Regions from separate parts of the Homo sapiens genome. Here region 1 is linked to region 2. The links are contacts of gene promoters, found by promoter capture Hi-C in blood cells and fetal thymus (Javierre and others, 2016). All regions are on one chromosome and are shown on one strand. Each heading gives the region's core, a stretch centred on a gene start or on the middle of the fragment in contact. The rest is flanking DNA. Distances are from core to core; before and after follow the strand shown. Region 1 overlaps MIAT (myocardial infarction associated transcript). Region 2 holds the start of FBXO7 (F-box protein 7).

Region 1 (4,324 bases), core at 1-2,500, 5.8 Mb before region 2:
CATAGCTAACAATTTTGGGCGTGGTGGCTGCTCTGAGTCAGAACAATCAGAAGTCGGTAAAGATGGTAGTTTTCTAAAGGAGGTGCCAGGGCTCTGGTGTGGACCAGGCCTGATGGAGCAGTGGTACCCACCAAGGTGGGGTCAGAAGTATAGCCAGTCTTGCAAGGTTTTGGCCATTGGGCATATCTTCACTCCTCATAGTCTGCATTTGGTTTCAGTTCTTAAAAAAATATAGCCTTATAGCTACAGTAGTTTGCACAAGTAGATGCAGCTCTTATAAACCTTAAAATACCTGTCTGGTGTCTACAGAGCATATGCCATTTTGTATAGAGTCACCCTTCCCCAGGCCAGGGCCTAGAGTCTTCATTTTGGGGACTTTGTGTTTTGGAAGTTCTAGGACATAAAGCTTTAGATCAGAGTATTCAGAAGGGTTATAACTCCGTCAGTCATTTACATGTTAGTAGTATAAATTATCTGAGCTTCCTGTTCTAACTTTTAGCTCTTCTAGCATAAACTCTTCTGTGCAATTTAGCTGCACCGAGGAAACGGGAGTTTTTCTGGAAGGGACTTTTGATCTCTTTAGACTGAGGGAACGTCCTTTGGGAGTAGAGGGGCAGGGAGCATACGCAAGGGATTCCAGGTGCAGGTAAAAGGTGGCACTAGTTCAAGGTTTTGCTGACTCAGTCTGGTAGTCAGAGTCTGCAGGAGAAGACAGTTCAAGGCAGGGCCTGGAGGATTGGATCAGTTTAGGGACAGGTCAAAGGCTGGCTTACAGACCTTAGAGGCAGGTTGCTTGGGTCGTTGAATGCTAGTCTGGTGCTGAGAGCCCTTTTCTCTGGCAACTGTGGACTCAGAGCTAACCAATTGTAGTTGGCAGTGGGGGTGAAGGGTGATCCAGAGGCCTGAGCTGCAGAGGGCACAAGAGAGAAAAGATGTCTTAGAAAGAGCTTTGAGAACATGCCTTGGCTGCTGGCAGGGACCTTGGATGGGGTAGTCTACACCCGGAAGTGCCTGCCTGCCATCCTCTAGTGGCTGCCTTGCTCCATTTCACTCAAAGCAGGAAGCTCACACCTCCTATTCCTGAAACTCCTCTTTGTTTAACTGCAAAGACTTGATGCTGCTAAGGATCTACTATGTGCCAGGCACTGCTCTGGGCGCTGGGACCTGCACCTGGGCTTTTTCGTCATGGTGCTTTTATAGCCTAGTGGGAGAGTTGGTGAAGTAGATAGTGATTCAGTGAGATGGGTGTTATGATTGGTCAGGGGTCTGTGGGAGCACCAAGGAGACAGACAAGATTGATGTGCACCTACTCTGTGCCAGGCGTGTGCCAGGCATTGGGGATGTAGTGGTAGTTAAACACCATTTGGTCTTCAGGAGCTTTAATTCTAGTGTGTTGGGTGCAGGGGGGTGGAATGGGGACAGAGAGACACCTAATCCACCCTGTGGTGGCTTTCTGGAGAGGGAGGCATCTAAGCTGAGCTGTGGCTGGGTGGAGTGTGGGTGGGGATGAGTTCCGGGCAGCGAGAGTGGTGGACACCAGTTTCTGGGGATCAGAGAGGATCCAAAGAGGTTCTGGAAGGTTCATGTGGAATGTAGCAAGAGATAGGAGACATGGACATGGTGCCGGGTCTGGTTGCCAAGAAGTTTAGATTTTATCCTTAGGCCTTGGGGAGCGACGGATATGATCTGAGAAAGGGAGTTAGTGGATTTGAGTTTTAGGCTGGCCATTTGGCTTTTCCAGCCCAGGTGGAACTCAGAGGAGTTTGCAATGGCCTCTGGCCACATTTTAGACAACTGAGCAGAACTTTTTGAAACTAGGAAGACCCTTTGGTCCATCTTTTGATAAACAGAATCCATACATGTCTACCCCAGTTGGAAGTATCTCTGCAATGACTGGAAAGTAAAGAGGACCAAGGTGAAAATAAAGGCTCGGAAGGGGAGCAATCTTGAAAACATGTCATCCCATGGTGGTGGGAAGTCCCTGGAGAAGATCAGGGGAAACACAGTCATAGGCTGCAAGTCTATAAGATAATTCCATTGGGGAGGGAGCCCATTTGTCATGCATGGCTGCAAGGGGCAGATACAAGTGTGGAGTAAGCTTGCAAGAGCTGATCCTGGTCCCAGAGAGGGAAAAATATGCCTTGGTGGGTAATGAACCTTTTGTTCCCAGAGGCAGAAGGATTGGGACTAGGCCAACATAGAGATTGGCGATGGTTGTGAGATTCTAAGAGTGTGTGTGCATCTTGACAATATTAGAGGAGGCTGAGCCCAAGCAGGCACATTCTCTTCGACCCCTCCCTCATTCAGTCTGCTTTGGAGTCTACTGAACATCAAGCTTGCTATGAGCAGGATCTTAGAGCTGAGGAATTGGCCTCCCAATCCGAACAGGTGTTATAATCCTTTCTTAATAGGTTGTGCTGTGGACCCAATGTGAGGGCTGTGCTGGTGTAAATGGTGACATGTTGAGCTGGGGGGATGCTTTCGGGGTGGGGGGACTGGTTCCATTCCATCAAAGGCCCTCTTGAGAGTCTATCCAGGGACCCATTGTTTTACTTTAACAGACCAGAAAAGATGTTTGTTTTCCATGTCATTACCCCCAGGGGATACCGAATGTGTGGGTAGAAATTTCTCTGTAGATTAAAAATCAGATTTTTACATGGATTCAACAAAGGAGCGTCACTTGGATTTTTGTTTTCATCCATGAATGTAGCTGCTTCTGTGTAAAATGCCATTTTGCTATTAAAAATCAATTCACGCTGGAAACATGACTGTGGCCTATGAAGCAGAAGGGACGTGCTGTTTAGGGGAGAGGGGGCAGCCAGTGGCATTCTCAAGGAGCAGGGGTGGGCTCTCTCGGTGAGTCAGCCTTTCCTCAAGAGTGACCCTAGAAGTCAATATAATAGGGTATTTTATTTTTTAATTTTGGTAAAATAATCATAACATAAAACTTCACCACCATAATAATTTCTAAGTGAACATCTTGGTGGTATCATTCACATTGTTGTGCAACCATTATCACCATTGGTATTTATTTTTCTTTTCTTTTTTTTAGAGATGAGGTCTTGCTATGTTGCCCAGGCTGGCTTTGATCTCCTGGTCTCAAGCGATCCTCTTGCTTCAGCCTCTTGAGTAGCTGGGACTGCAGGCGTGCACCACTGTGCCTGGTGGTATTTTTAAAAAATAACACTTCTTTATGCCTAGGGCAGTGCTTCCAGAAATCCAGGTTCTTATTGCCAGGGAATTTGTTTATTTTATTATTATTTTTTTTTTGAGATGGAGTCTTGCTCTGTTGCCCAGACTGGGGTGCAGTGGCGCGGTCTCGGCTCACTGTAAGCTCTGCCTCCTGGGTTCACGCCATTCTCCTGCCTCAGCCTCCTGAGTAGCTGGGACTACAGGCACCCACCACCACGCCCGGCTAATTTTTTGTATTTTTAGTAGAGACGGGGTTTCACCGTGTTAGCCAGGATGGTCTCGATCTCCTGACCTCGTGATCTGCCCGCCTCGGCCTCCCAAAGTGCTGGGTTTACAGGCTTGAGCCACCGCGCATGGCCTGCCAGGGATCTTATACTTCACTGGGGAGTCAAAGAGTTCCTTGGTGACAGAGAAAAAGATAGAGTTTAGTGTGTGATCGTGAAGGACTGGCAAATATAAGCCACACACATCGCCACTCTTCCCTTCAGCATCCTTGACAGACATTGCAAGTTGATTGCCTATCTCTCTTTGGGAACTTGGGTGCATTTTCAGGCTCTTTCTCAGAACAGTGTTCTGGGTAGCCAAGTTTTAAAAGAACTTTGGAGTCAGTCTTAGGATTGAGACTACTGATAATCCTCAGTTTGAATCCCAGCTTTGCCACACACCTGCTGTTAGATCTTGGGGATGATTGCCCTTCCCTGAGCCTCCATCGGCTCTGTAGAATGGGGAGACCACTCCCACCTCATAGGGCCATTGTGAAGGTTCCCAAGCGTTCTTGCAGAGCTAAGACAGCGCTTGATGCCCTGCAAGTGTTCCCTGAAACCTCATTCTGTGTTAGCACCAGATGATGAGATTGGGGGCCAGAGGTGCTCTGTTGGAAAGAAGGTCAGGAGGAGGTGGGGTGAGGGTGGGGGCAGTAAGGGATGGCTTTCTGGGAGAATCAAAACTTGAGGGGAACCTTGAAGGATGGGGAATAGTCAATAAATCAGGAGAAAATAGTGATGGTGCAGGGCATTTCAGGATGGCTTCTCCAAGATTCATTGGACTGGTTCGGTAGGAGATGAGGATATTGATAGGATATTGGGGTGGGGGCAGGGTGGACACTTCAGAGGAGGTTACAGATTGAGCTAAG
Region 2 (4,246 bases), core at 1,541-4,040:
CCTCATCAGGCCAGTTTTCAGCTTGGTTCTGAGCTTCATTCTTGGAAGCTTAGCCTGGGGCCACTTCTCCATCCTCCCTAGAATTCCCTGAGCTGTACAGCATCCTTTTAATACACACCTTTTCTGCTTAGTCAGCCAGAGTCAGCTTCTACTGCTGAAAATTAAGAACCCTGATAGTAAAGACTCCCTGCTAAAAACTGTCTAGCGGCTTCCCATACATTCTAGAATATGTCCCAAACCCTGTGCTTAGCCCAAGGCTCTTCTTTATCTGGGATGTACCTATGCTGTCCATCACTCTGGTCACACAGAGTCATCCTGGTCCTGGCACCATTCCTCACTGCTCACTACTAAAGAATCCTACGGGCATGGCAAACCTCCTCTATGTACCCTCTTAAAACCAAAATGTATTCAAACACCCATGCTAACATTCTTAAATATCTGCTAGCCATAATAAAAAAATCAATGTACTTTACAATCTTAACTCCCACAATTTAGCCTAAATATTTGCCCTAACATATTTATACTAGTTCAAACAAACATTAAGTCATAGCCTATTCCTCTTCCTTAAAGGGGTGTTGACCTTTCTCAACATTCCACAAGTTACTTCCTCCTTGCTTTGTTCTCCTCTGCCTTTGCCTCTTTTAAAAAGTTCTAAATTACTAGCCAATCAAGACAAATACAAAATATAAAGTCCCATTCCAGCCAATAAAAACCAGACACAGGCCAGGCGCGGTGGCTCACGCCTGTAATCCCAGCACTTTGGGAGGCCGAGGCGGGCGGATCAGGTCAGGAGATCGAGACCATCCTGGCTAACACGGTGAAACCCCATCTCCACTAAAATAATAATAAAATAATAATAATAATAATAATAATAATAATAATAATAATAATACAAAAATTAGCCAGGTGTGGTGGCGGGTGCCTGTAGTCCCAGCTACTCGGGAGGCTGAGGCAGGAGAATGGCGTGAACCCAGGAGGCGGAGCTTGCAGTGAGCCGAGATCACGCCACTGCACTCCAGCCTGGGCGACAGAGCGCGACTCCATCTCAAACAACAACAACAACAAAAAAAAACAAAAACAAACAAAAAACCAGACACAGCAGTAAAGTGGACACATCAGGTTATATATGACCCTGTCTCCTTTGTTCGGTGTACTCTCGTGACAAAACTGCTGGCGAGTATACCCTTTCTACAAAAAATAAAAATGGCCTTGCTAAAAAAATTAAATTTATATTCAAGTGCTATTTCTTTACAACATCAAAAAACAAACATTTCTAACAATCCCATTCCTCAGGTCTGTATTTATGTCTATCATAAAGCAGAGACTTTTTACACTCTACTGAAAGAGCTGATTCACTCAACTGTAAACTTTGCATGGGCAGAAACATGTCTTTTTGGTCTCTTGAGTCTCCAGCATGTGGGGTATCTGTCACAAAGTAGGCAATCAATACATATTTATTTGCAGAATCAAGGGCAGGATGTGGACAAGTGCTGCCACCTATTGGGAGAAACTTTATTTGACTCTAAGGATTTGGACTATGGTTATCACACAAGGACGAAACTTGATACTCTCTCTCATCTAAGTTATCATTAGTTAGACCCTCTATGGTAGCCAGCCTCCAGGATGGCCCGCAGCGATCCCTGTCTGTTGGCATTCATACCTTTGGCTGGATCCTCTCACACATAGGGTTGGTTTGTAAATATGACAAAAGCCGTATGTGACCTCTGGAGCTAGGTCATAAAAGACATTGTGGCTTATACCTTGGTCTCTCTGGGATCACCTGCTCTGAAGGAAGCCAGCTGCCATGTCATGGGGACACTCAAACAGCCCTATGGGGAGGTTCACGTGGTGAAAACAGGTCTCTGGCCAACAGTCATGACTGTGCCATCCTGGAGGCCGATCCTCCAGCCCTAGTCAATAACTGCTGCCCTGGCCTACAGTTTGTAATCTCATGGGAGACCTGGAGACAGAACCACCCAGCCACGCATCCCCAAATCCCTTTACCTCTAAAACCTGTGGGACAACAAATGTTTATTGCGTTAAACTTTGGGGTGATTGTTATGCAGCCACAGAGTTCTAATAAACTGTCGGACATAGATTACTGGCTACAAATAGTTCTACTTTTTTTTTGAGACAGGGTCTCGTTCTGTGGAACCAGGCTGAGGTGCAGTGGTGCGATCACAGCTCATTGAGGCCTCGACCTCCGGGCTCAATCGACCCTCCCGCCTCAGCCACCCAACTAGCTGGGACTACAGGCAGGCGCCACCACACCTAATTTTTTGTATTTTTTGTAGAGATGGGGGGGGGGGTTTCACCATGTTGCCCAGGCTGGTCTCGAACTCCTGGGCTCAAACGATCCACCCGCCTCGGCCTCCCAAAGTGCTGGGATTACAGGCGTGAGCCACCGCGCCCGGCCAACCTAAGGATTAACCTAAGGCTTCTCAGAGCAGATGCCGCTGGAACTGAGGGCCACGGAAGAAAGGGGGTGACACTTGGTCCTGGGGAGTGGCGACTGTATTGTCTGTCTGCAGCATCCCTATCAGCGCTACCGTTGTTCCACGCACACAGGGAGTAAGTACTGGGAGTCCCAGCCACCGCCGCGGAAAATCTGGGATGCCAGCGAGCGGCCGCATCTCGGCGCCTGCGCACTGTGCCCGCGCTCTCAGGCAGCGCCGTTGCGCGCGGAGTCATCGATCGGCCGACCCCGAGAGGCCCGGTTCCTTTAGGCCGCCTGCCCGCCTCCAGCTCTCGGGGTCGGCTCCAGGAGGCGCCCTCAGGAGAGGGGCGGGCGCTCTATTCCAGAGACCGAGTGGCAGGGCGGCCACTGTGGCGGGGCTCTTTCCCCGTTTCGCCTCAGCTACCCCTCAGCTCCGGTAGTCGCCAGTCCGGGGTCGTCGCCGTTTGGGGCGGGAGCTGCTCGGCCCCGCCGCCGTCCCCGTCGCCGCTTCCGGGTCCAGGCCCCTCGGGCCGCCTGCCGCCGTCATGAGGCTGCGGGTGCGGCTTCTGAAGCGGACCTGGCCGCTGGAGGTGCCCGAGACGGAGCCGACGCTGGGGCATTTGCGCTCGCACCTGAGGCAGTCCCTGCTGTGCACCTGGGGGTACAGGTACGCTGGGGCCGGGGCTGGGCGGCCCGCGGGGAGTGGGGAGTGCTTGGGGTGGGTGCAGGGCGGGTTGGCGTCATCTGTGGGCTGCAGGCGCGGGCGTGGCCGGGCGATAGGCCAAGTGCGGGGACGCCGGGGGGGCCTTCACGGGAGGCCCGGGCTCTTCCGGGCGTCGCGGAGCCGGAGGGTGCAGGCGACGGGAAGCGCGGGTGGTCGGCTGGGGTCCGGCTCCTGGAGAACATGGCCCGGCCTCCCGGGGGCTCTGGTCCCCTCCTCGGTGAGTCATGGCTTCTGGTTTTGCAGTAAACGGAACCAGGGAGAGGAGGGAACGCACAATTTCCACAACTGGTTAGATTTCAAGTTGGAAATGATGAGCTTGGCTTGGGTTAAACCTTTCTGGACTGTGAGGGGTCCGAGTTAATTTCTTCAGCTGTTGGAGTATTTCAATGAAAAAGTTTGGAAATTGCTAGAAGTTAAAAATCTGCCCTCAATCCGAGGCCACCGGTAGCTTGTATCGCTGCTGTGAAGCGGCAACAATTTTAGATTCTGTTGTGTTCATGCGCCGAGCACCGCGGTGAGCGCTTGGACTTCGCCGCCGAAAAGTTTTAGAAAGGACAGCGTGTAGGCGTGTTTCAGACCATTTCATTTTCTTGGGTGAAATGTTGCTTTTTTGCTAAAACTGAGGCAAACGTTGATCTTGAGAGCTTGCAGTTTGGGGGCAGTAAAGTTGAGAAAGGATCATATTCTGTTATTGGTTTGTGGGACTGCAGGTGAAGCTGCTTTGTTTCCCTAAAAGATACTTTTTGGGGACAATAATTTGGGAGTAAAGCGGCAAGGTAAGAGTGGTCCTCTTCAAATACTGAGCTAGTGAATTTGAAACTTGAGTGTGCTAAGGAAAAATGAAAAAGATGTTCCCTGGGGATTTTTAGGTGAATTCTTCAAAACAAAAGCAAACCTTCCTACGTTTTCACCTTATTTTTAGGGAATTGGGTAAAATGAGGCCGTTATTCTGAACTTCTCGCCCTTTCATTTTCCTGGTTAAGACATTATTAGATTGAAAGTAAGCCTGTTTTCTTCCTGATTAAAAAAAAAACCCTAAATAAGATACTGACATAACTCCTTTTAAACATTATAGTAAGTGACAT

The links. The method cuts DNA at HindIII sites, captures the fragments that hold promoters and counts their contacts. A CHiCAGO score of 5 or more calls a contact.
Region 1: a contact is called between a fragment that was not itself captured here and the fragment with the promoter of FBXO7 in region 2, in 1 of 17 cell types (total CD8 T cells). The highest score is 5.1, in total CD8 T cells.

Annotation. Positions count from the first base shown.
Region 1 is chr22:26,673,716-26,678,039 of GRCh38, forward strand. It overlaps MIAT (myocardial infarction associated transcript), which reads left to right. Exons shown (of 5, transcript NR_033320.3): 5 at 1-2,763. The region is part of intron 1 of MIATNB (MIAT neighbor); the gene reads left to right. Among named protein-coding and RNA genes, the nearest start is that of MIATNB, 3.0 kb to the left of the region's middle. The HindIII fragment of the contact is 1,692 bases long and covers 405-2,096 here.
Region 2 is chr22:32,472,021-32,476,266 of GRCh38, forward strand. It overlaps FBXO7 (F-box protein 7), which reads left to right and starts at 2,791. Exons shown (of 9, transcript NM_012179.4): 1 at 2,791-3,104. The coding sequence starts at 2,983. RefSeq lists enhancers at 1,766-1,825, 2,551-3,051, 2,714-2,883, 3,052-3,552, 3,138-3,307 and silencers at 2,872-3,061, 3,072-3,381. The HindIII fragment of the contact is 4,456 bases long and covers 47-4,246 here.